Regions from separate parts of the Homo sapiens genome. Here region 1 is linked to region 2. The links are contacts of gene promoters, found by promoter capture Hi-C in blood cells and fetal thymus (Javierre and others, 2016). All regions are on one chromosome and are shown on one strand. The core of a region is centred on a gene start or on the middle of the fragment in contact, and the rest is flanking DNA. Distances in the headings are between cores, read along the strand shown. Region 1 overlaps ENTPD7 (ectonucleoside triphosphate diphosphohydrolase 7). Region 2 holds the start of NKX2-3 (NK2 homeobox 3).

Evidence for each region. The method cuts DNA at HindIII sites, captures the fragments that hold promoters and counts their contacts. A CHiCAGO score of 5 or more calls a contact.
Region 1: a contact is called between a fragment that was not itself captured here and the fragment with the promoter of NKX2-3 in region 2, in 2 of 17 cell types (megakaryocytes and naive B cells). The highest score is 6.8, in megakaryocytes.

Annotation. Positions count from the first base shown.
Region 1 is chr10:99,709,186-99,713,563 of GRCh38, forward strand. It overlaps ENTPD7 (ectonucleoside triphosphate diphosphohydrolase 7), which reads left to right. Exons shown (of 13, transcript NM_020354.5): 13 at 1-2,056. It overlaps COX15 (cytochrome c oxidase assembly factor COX15), which reads right to left. Exons shown (of 9, transcript NM_078470.6): 9 at 1,683-4,378. Among named protein-coding and RNA genes, the nearest start is that of COX15, 21 kb to the right of the region's middle. The HindIII fragment of the contact is 672 bases long and covers 2,756-3,427 here.
Region 2 is chr10:99,530,941-99,535,280 of GRCh38, forward strand. NKX2-3 (NK2 homeobox 3) reads left to right here and starts at 2,002. Exons shown (of 2, transcript NM_145285.3): 1 at 2,002-2,549; 2 at 4,045-4,340. The coding sequence starts at 2,192. LINC01475 (long intergenic non-protein coding RNA 1475) reads right to left here and starts at 237. Exons shown (of 5, transcript NR_120618.1): 1 at 72-237. RefSeq lists an enhancer at 1,332-2,223. The HindIII fragment of the contact is 5,996 bases long and covers 1,532-4,340 here.

The DNA of each region.
Region 1 (4,378 bases), core at 1,842-4,341, 180 kb after region 2:
CCTCATTAAAGAACTTCGTTGTAATTCTTGGGCAGTTTCCAGACTCTGTTACAGAAACAGAGGGCTGTTTCTTTTTGTTGTCTTTAAACTTTTCAAATTAATTCAAAACTAGTATCTAATTGTCCTTTTTGCTGTGGTATGTGGTGTAATGTTGATTGGGAATAAGAATTATGGTAGAAATAGCAGATGTTTCAAATTCTCCCATATTAGTCTCTTAGGGACGCTAGCTCCAGATTCCAGCCCCTGGGGCAATAACTTGTGAGGATTTTCCTGGTGTTACAAAAAATATTGCTGTTAAAAAACTAAGACTCAAAACCAAAAGTTGTGATTAATAATAACAGGATTATTAGTCAATAATATTTTGATTAATACTATAGAATAGCAACAGTGAATATACCTCAAATTGAAAACTTTTAGGTTGTGTTCTTGGCTCATTCTCTCATAACCTGGATCTAAGTTGGAAAGCTGTGGCACCCTGTTTGGGTGTCCCATCTACCCTGTTTTCTGTTTCTGCAGATGGCTTGTTCAAGCTTCATTTTAAGCCTGCTCTGTCTACTTATCTTCCTTATATCCTAATAGACTTCTCTTGTGTTATTACACATTTCTCTTTTGCTCTAATATTTCATTATTTTCCAGTTTGTCAGTACCGTTATCAGAGGGACGAGGAAGGAATAACACACCAGTTGACCATTTTGTTTCTCTGAAAATCTGAGCAATACGGAGATCCTTTTATTAGTAAAACTGAATCATTACTCATACTACAAGGGCTTTCACTTTTAAAATGTAATCCATCATTGCTTGCCATTTTTATGAAAACCAAAGTTGAAAAGTCTTCTGAATCACAGGCTATGTATAGCCACACATGCATGACTTCAGGCTAGCATAAAGACATGTCTGCTCCTGAGCCTCTTCTTTTAAAGGGCAACCACTTGTATACCCTCTGGTGGCCACTCCTCCTTCTCCACTCCAAGGCAGCCCTGGTACTTTCCTAAGTGGCCCCTCCTACAGAGCACTTGCCGGCATTTGGCCTGCTGCTGGTGAAGACGCCCCTTACTAGCTTCATAAATGTTTTTCTGCAAGCAGGGATCCCAGACACATACTTTGGTTTCTAGTGTTTCAGTTACTATGTTGTATTTGAAATTCTCATTCCACAATTACCCTTTAGTTGAAGTCCTGAAGTACATGCCATGTACTCCCCCTTTATTTCTACCTTGATCAATGGCCTCTGCGGAGTGTAGTGAAAGACATCTTTTTATTATGATCTACACTTTAAAAAACCAAAGGCTGCCTGTATTACATTGCTTTGGGGAGTTGTTAAGACTCTGTTTTTTCTACTGCTTCACATTAAACAATAATTTTGTTGAATTTTGAATTCTTAAAATTCTCACTGACAAACATTTTAGGTCAGTGTTGAGGAAAATGTGTGATGCATGTTAGAGAGGTGATGCATTCTCCCTTATGCAGGGACATGGGTATATGTGTTACATATGCTGATATATAACCCACCATTCATCCCAGGACCACAAGGGTAGCTGTAGATAAACTGGTTATCCTAAAATCATGATTATCAGTGTTGATCTCTGCAACCAACATTGCTTTAGGGAGTTGCTAGTCATTACCCCTGCTACAATAGATAGTATTTGTCAGTCTAAGTTACAGACAAAAAATTCTAGGTTGACTGATTAAGAAAGCCATGTGTTTTAATTTCCTTCATGTTTTAAAAACAATGGACGTAAGTGCAGAGAGACCTTTGAAAATATTAAGGGAAATCTATTTAATCCTATAGGTATGTGATGACTTGTTTTTTTGGAAAAAGGTATTTGGAACATCAATCTGTAATTATCCATTTTCCATTCATGCATTCACTAATTCAATATTTGATATGTGTCTGGGAGTGCTGGGAATAACATAAATACAAAAAAAACCCTAAGATAATCATTCACCAGAAGCTCATAGATATAATACAGTTATATAGCTAAATGCAACCAGTTGTTTTTCCAAATGTACTCATCATCTGTAATAAAAGAAAAATGAAGTAAAACATCTGAAACCTTAACTTACTCATGAGTTGCTACTTCCTTGGAGGCAACTGTAGAAGCATTAATATATGGTTCTTTGGGTTGGGTCATACTGCCCTCTGCTGACTCAGTTACTAACTAAGGACAACCTGGGTTTGAGGATCAGGAGAGGATGGTGTGGGAACCTGCCTCAGGAACTACAGTTCCCTTTCTTTGAAGGATTCTATCCAGAAGAGACCATATCCTACTAACATACTAATAGGAGCAACATAGCAGATCAAATGATAAGGTGGGGTGGAAATTAGAAGGGAATGGGAATAAGCTAGTCAGAACTTTCTAAGGTAACTAGGCTATTAGGACCTAAGCCAGTGGTCCCTAGACTTGTCTGCACATTGGAATCACCTGGGGAACTTTAAAAATATGCCTTTTACTTCCTCCAGGGATTGTGACTTAATTGGTCTTAGATGAGGCTTGGGCTTTGGGATTTTTCTAAGATTCAAATAAGAGAGAAGTTGGGAATCTCTTCTAGGCAATAGCATAAGCCCAGCCAGGGTCCAGCATTTATGAAAAATTGACAAACTGTTTTGCTAAGAATCACCTGTGTTAGTCGGCTTGCATTGCTATAAGGAAATACTGACAATTTTTAGAAAGAAAAGAGGTTTATTTGGCTCACTGTTCTGCATAGAACTGTATAGGAAGCATGGCGCTGGCATCTGCTTCTGGTGAGGGCCTCACGAAGCTTACAATCATGGCAGAAGGTGAAGGGGAGCCAGTGTGTCACATGGTGAGAGAGAGCAAGCGAGAGAGGAGGAAGTTCCAGGCTCTTTTAAACAACCAGCTCTTGCATAAACAACCAGAGTGAGAACTCACTCATTACTATGGGGATGGCACAAAGTCATACATAAGGGATCCGCCCCCATGACCCAAATACCTCCTACTAGGCCCACCTCTAACACTGAATGTCACACTTTGAACATGAGATTTGGAGGGGACAAAACATCCAAACCATATCACCACCTGAGAATGGTACACTACAGGTCACAGAAACTTACAGAGTACTGGAGTTGAAAGAGAACTGAGATCACCTAGTTCAGAGACTAACGGGAAACGTTAGGTCATTTATGGCTCTCAGACACGTTAAGCCTGCATAACATTTTTTAAAATCTTGAAATTAGTTCCCAACACTTAATTGAGAGCTTTCACAGAAAAATCTAGATATGTGGCTTATTTTTAAAAAACAGAAGATTTGCTGACTTAAACACTGCAAAATTAAACATTTATATCTGAATCCAGCATCTCTTTTTGCTTTGTAAATGAGGTCAAGGATGAAATCCAGATGTTCTTCCTTTGTATTTGTATTGTCACTGTATGGAATCTAGGTATATCCAAGGAAAAATAAACTTAAGATAAGCTTATTTTCCTTATTTCAAAAAGCAAAACAAAAACCCAGAAGATCTAACAACCCTGGACCTGTAGAGTGGCAGCAACAGACCAGAACTCAGCAGTATAGTCCGAGCTGGGGCACCTGCTCGCCAGTGTTACTGTCTCCATCAGCCTGACCCCAGTGAGCATTTGATTTGGTCTACCCTACTCTTGCCTTCTACAGAACTAAAACTAACTTCCTGCAACTTTCATCCATTGCTGCCAGCTCTGCAGCATAATGGAAGCTCATTCCCTCTTCTGCATGAGACGGCTTCAACTTCTCAAGGACAGGAATCTTGCTCTCTCTCCAGATGTTCTCTGCTCCAGTTAAATATCCCTAGTTCCTTCACCTATTCCCTGTGTGACAGGGGTTCTGGACTCATCATTCTGATCTCTTCTTCTGGATACACACTTAGTGGCCATCAATATCTTGCTTAAATTTGGTACCCAGAGTGAAATGCAGTATGTTAGGGGTATTTTGACTATGGCTGTGACACTTCTACTGATAAAACCTGAAGTACCACTAATTTTTCTGTTATCATATAATAACAACATGAATACTACTTGGTTCATATTGAACCTGAGGACAACTAAAATCCCGTCTTTTTTATATGAAATGATATAAGGCCAGGTTTCTTCAGCCCAAACTTATACAACTTATTTAATTTAAATGAGTATGTTACATTTCTAATCTGTTTAATTTCATCTCGATGGGGTCATTCTGGGACTGTTTTCAGTTGCCACTGTCATCTATTATATTAGCAATATTGGGTTGCTCCATCCTCAAATCAGATGTTTCTGATGCCTTCATCCAAATCACTGATTTTAAAAGTAAAGTTGAATAAGACAGGGCCCTATGAAATATCAATAGAGACCAAAATCACATTAATTCAGCAGTCAACAATTTGTTTATCTGGGTAGATGTCCATGCACTACAC
Region 2 (4,340 bases), core at 752-3,251:
TCGGAATTTTTGTGCCCGAGCGCTCGGGATCCACGGCAAAACCAGGCACATTCCTCCCTCTGCAGACTCACCGCCTGGTTTGTAGACACTGGTCTCCGCCTGGGGCGTCAATAGTTTCAGGATTTAAAGCAGAAAGACACCGGGCGCCCCTGTGGCTGAGGAATGGCGGTTCCAGCACAAGACCCTGCCCACAGAGGGTCTCTCCCTACTGCCTGCGGGCCGCCGCTACCCTAAGTACTCCGGGGCGCACGTGGCCCGCGCGGCATCCCAGCTCCCCGGGCGGACCCAGGGGCTGCCTCTCCACAACAGTTCCGCTCCCTTCTGCAGAGCCCCGCCTCTCCCACCTCCCGACAGGCTGTTCTTTCTCCCTTCAACCTTGGGCACCCACTCCTGTCGCCGTTGCGGGACCCGCGTGGCAGCCCTCCACCCTCGTACCCACTCCCAGCCGGTGTCTTATGCCGCTCGGAGGCAATGTCCACCGTCCCTGCACCTTTCACCTGCCCCTTCCAGGTGAGACGGGTCTCTTTCAGCTCCGCCATCCTGACCGCCAAAAAATGCTTGGATTGGCTGGGGCCGGATGAGGACAGCCACGGTTGAGCTGGAACCGTTCCCTATTTTTTTAAGGCCAGCGCTGCACACGGGTCTTTCTGTGGCCCTCAAAGCAGCGCCCGCTGCTCCTCACTGGGCTAGGCCTGGTAGCGAGCAAATGCCTATTGTGGGAGAAGATGGTCCCAGAGTTTCCAGCTCAGAGTTTCCAGAATCTGTGGGGGACTGTATAGACTCCCCCAGAAAACAACCAGGGCCTCATGAAGGTGCCAGAAGGCGTGTAGGTAGAGAAATTTTAAAAGCCTGTCGGAGAGGCAAGGCCTACATTCAGGCTCCTGATTTCAATAGGTGGAAAAGAAGGCTGCCAAGGCTGGGTCACCTCCCTTGTGAGGACAGATCCTGCTCTCAGTATGTGCCACACTCCAGCCACGCACCACCAATGCAGTCAACAAACACTGCTTGACCTCCCATACAGAAAAGCAGTCGTTGACACGTACTGAGCGCTTAACACGCGTGAGGCCGTGCACTAAGATTCTGGCATGTTTTGCCTCATTCAACCCTAGCAACAACCAAAAAAGGTATTACTGCCTTCGTTTTATAGACGAGAAAACAGACTTAGAAACGCCGAAGATCACACACTGACTAGGCCAAGCAAGAGCTGTCGAATACCAAAGTTTAGTCATAACTCTATCTTCCTTTCACATACTGCTCTGTGCGGCTGCTGCCAGGGATACAAGGGCAAAAGCAACCCCGGGACACTGCCCTCATGGAGCTTACAGTCTAACTGGGGCGACCAGGCAGGCACATACAGCTATAGAATTAAGTGGGAAGTGATAAGTGACATGCATGTCCTTTGCTAACACAAGCTGCAGGTTCAGAGCCTGAAAGAGGGGACTTCCGGCTAGACGATCTAGGAGCTCTTCCTTGGAGAACAGTTTCCACTCGTGGAGGCTAAGTGTCAGAAACATGTTCCAAGTGGAGAGAAAGCTTGAGCAAAGGCAACAAGTTGAAAAAGGACATGTCGCCCACCCATAGATAGATAAAACACTGCATCTCCTCGTGGATCCAGCGCCCAGTATTTACCCGCCAGGAAGTTTTCCTGCCCCGCGCAGCAGCTGAAAAAAACACACTCCTGGGGCATCCTTCCCTGGCGTTGGTTCGTGGACAGCAAGCCTCCCAGAACTGGCCTAGGTCGGGAAGGTGCAGCCACGCGGGAATCAATGGTTCAGGAACCGGATCTGTGCAGCCTCGCCCGCAGCGTCTCGGACTTCAGGACTCTATACTAGTCCTTGTCTATTTCTGGTAGAGCCGCAACATCCCACTCGCAGAGAGCAGGGGGCGTGGCCCACATGAGCCAGAACCTATAGGGAGGGAGGTTGGGGCGCCAGCCCCGCCCCCCCAACGTGACGCAAATCTCCCGGACAGAGGCTTAGGAGCCCGGGCCCCAGTCCCTGCAGTGGCTGTAACAAAACCCAGACCCCCAGGTCCCGGCCAATGGAGGCGATTTAGACTGGAGTGGGACCGCGTCTGTCAAAAGCCCGACTCGGCAGCAGCGGCGGAGTCCAGGAGGAGAGCTGGAGCCGCCGCGCTGCCTCCCCGCCCCCGCCGGGATTTATTATTTGGACTGGACAATTAAGTGGCCCTGATGATGTTACCAAGCCCGGTCACCTCCACCCCTTTCTCAGTCAAAGACATTTTGAATCTGGAGCAGCAGCACCAGCACTTCCATGGTGCGCACTTGCAGGCGGACTTGGAGCACCACTTCCACTCTGCGCCCTGCATGCTGGCCGCCGCTGAGGGGACGCAATTTTCTGACGGAGGGGAGGAGGACGAGGAAGACGAGGGCGAGAAATTGTCCTATTTGAACTCACTAGCCGCAGCAGACGGCCACGGGGATTCAGGGCTGTGTCCCCAGGGCTATGTCCACACGGTCCTGCGAGACTCGTGCAGCGAGCCCAAGGAACATGAAGAGGAGCCCGAGGTCGTGAGGGACCGGAGCCAAAGTGAGTAGAGGGGGAAAGAAAACGCACCCGCACACCTGGAGCAATGGCAGAGCGCACACAAACAGCCCACAGACCTTGCCAGCGCAGCTGCCCATCCCTTTACCCTTTGGCTGGGGCCATGCCTCCGCCCTGGTCACCGACAGCTCCACAAAGCGCAGGTACCTGCAAGGGAGCCGGGGTGGAGAGACAAGGACGAGGTGACCCTGACAACTACTCCCCCCAAAAGGGGGAAATGAGGGAAGGGAAGGTGGTTACTGCTGCCCTGATGCTGAGAGGCGACGTGGGCTCAGCGCCTGGGTCCTCATAACTGGCAGTATTTTTGCTCTTCCCCCCGCCCCAAAAGGCTCTTCCCCCAAAAAGGGCAGGAGCCTGGACCTTTTTCGTTTTCCCTCTAGGGTGAGATGAGTTCTCTTAGCCCAGGGCAGCCACCCCTTCTTCTCCGAAAAGACAGCCCAAGCAGCCTGTGTCTCTCGCACCCGCAGGGGCAGGAACTTTGGTGGAGGCCAGCTGGGCGGTTTCCTCCCTTCTCTGCTTGGAGCTCAGCGTCCTTGAACCCGTGGCACTCGGTAGAGAGAGAGGAGATGATCGGAAAGTGCGTGGGAACAATGTCTATTCCGCGCGACCATAGCTCTCACATCCCTAAGGCGCCAGCCTTTTTTGAAAATCCGTAACGTTTTGCTTTGTGTCCCAGGCTGCGGGCCTAATAGAAAACGCGCCGAACTTGAGTCCGAGATCTTGGCTGCTCACATCGGATGGGAAGTGAATTGATAGGGAGATGGGATAATCAAATAAAGTCCCCAAGGAAGTGTATTTAAGAGGACAGAATCACAGTCTTTCCCCAAGAGGCGGTTTGATGTGGCAGAGGCCAAGGCCTATGCTCTCATAGTTCCCAGAGCCGAAAATCGGCATGAAACTGTCTATAACTAGTCAATCAAACTTCATTTTCAAAGTGCACACAGATGTCGTCATAACATTCGCTTGTAGTCTTTTATAAGCCACACACACACACAAGTCCCTGAGCCATGCACAAGCGTTACACTCAGAACAGATTTTCGCGCAACCCATGCCCACCGGCCCACTCATACCAACACGCCTCACACCTTCAGTTATCCTTGGTGGAGTAGAATGCAAACGAGTTTGCAAATACTGTAGTTATTATGTAGTTGCAAGCCTTCATCCTGAAAATAGTCATTAGCACGTCGAGCCGCATATTTAATACAGAGTAATCTCTTCTCTCGCAGATGCTCAAGATCCAAATAAACACGCACTAACTACCCCTCTCCACGAAACGCGCCTCCGCCTGCTAAGGGCGTTCTTTGGGTACTGGGGCTGTCTCAGGGTCCCACAGCGCCAGGAGCCACAAACGTTCCCAAAAGTCCAGCCATTTACTACCGCACGCTCTGCGCAGCCACCAAAAAGGGTCACGGTGCTCCAGGACAGGAGCCGCGGTGCGGCCGGGAACAGCTAAGGACGCTGTTGTTTGCTTCTTCCGCAGAAAGCTGCCAGCTGAAGAAGTCTCTAGAGACGGCCGGAGACTGCAAGGCGGCGGAGGAGAGCGAGAGGCCGAAGCCACGCAGCCGCCGGAAGCCCCGGGTCCTCTTCTCGCAAGCCCAGGTCTTCGAGCTGGAACGCAGGTTCAAGCAGCAGCGGTACCTGTCGGCACCCGAGCGCGAGCACCTCGCCAGCAGCCTGAAGCTCACATCCACTCAGGTGAAAATCTGGTTCCAGAATCGCAGGTACAAGTGCAAGAGACAGCGGCAGGACAAGTCTCTGGAGCTTGGCGCACACGCG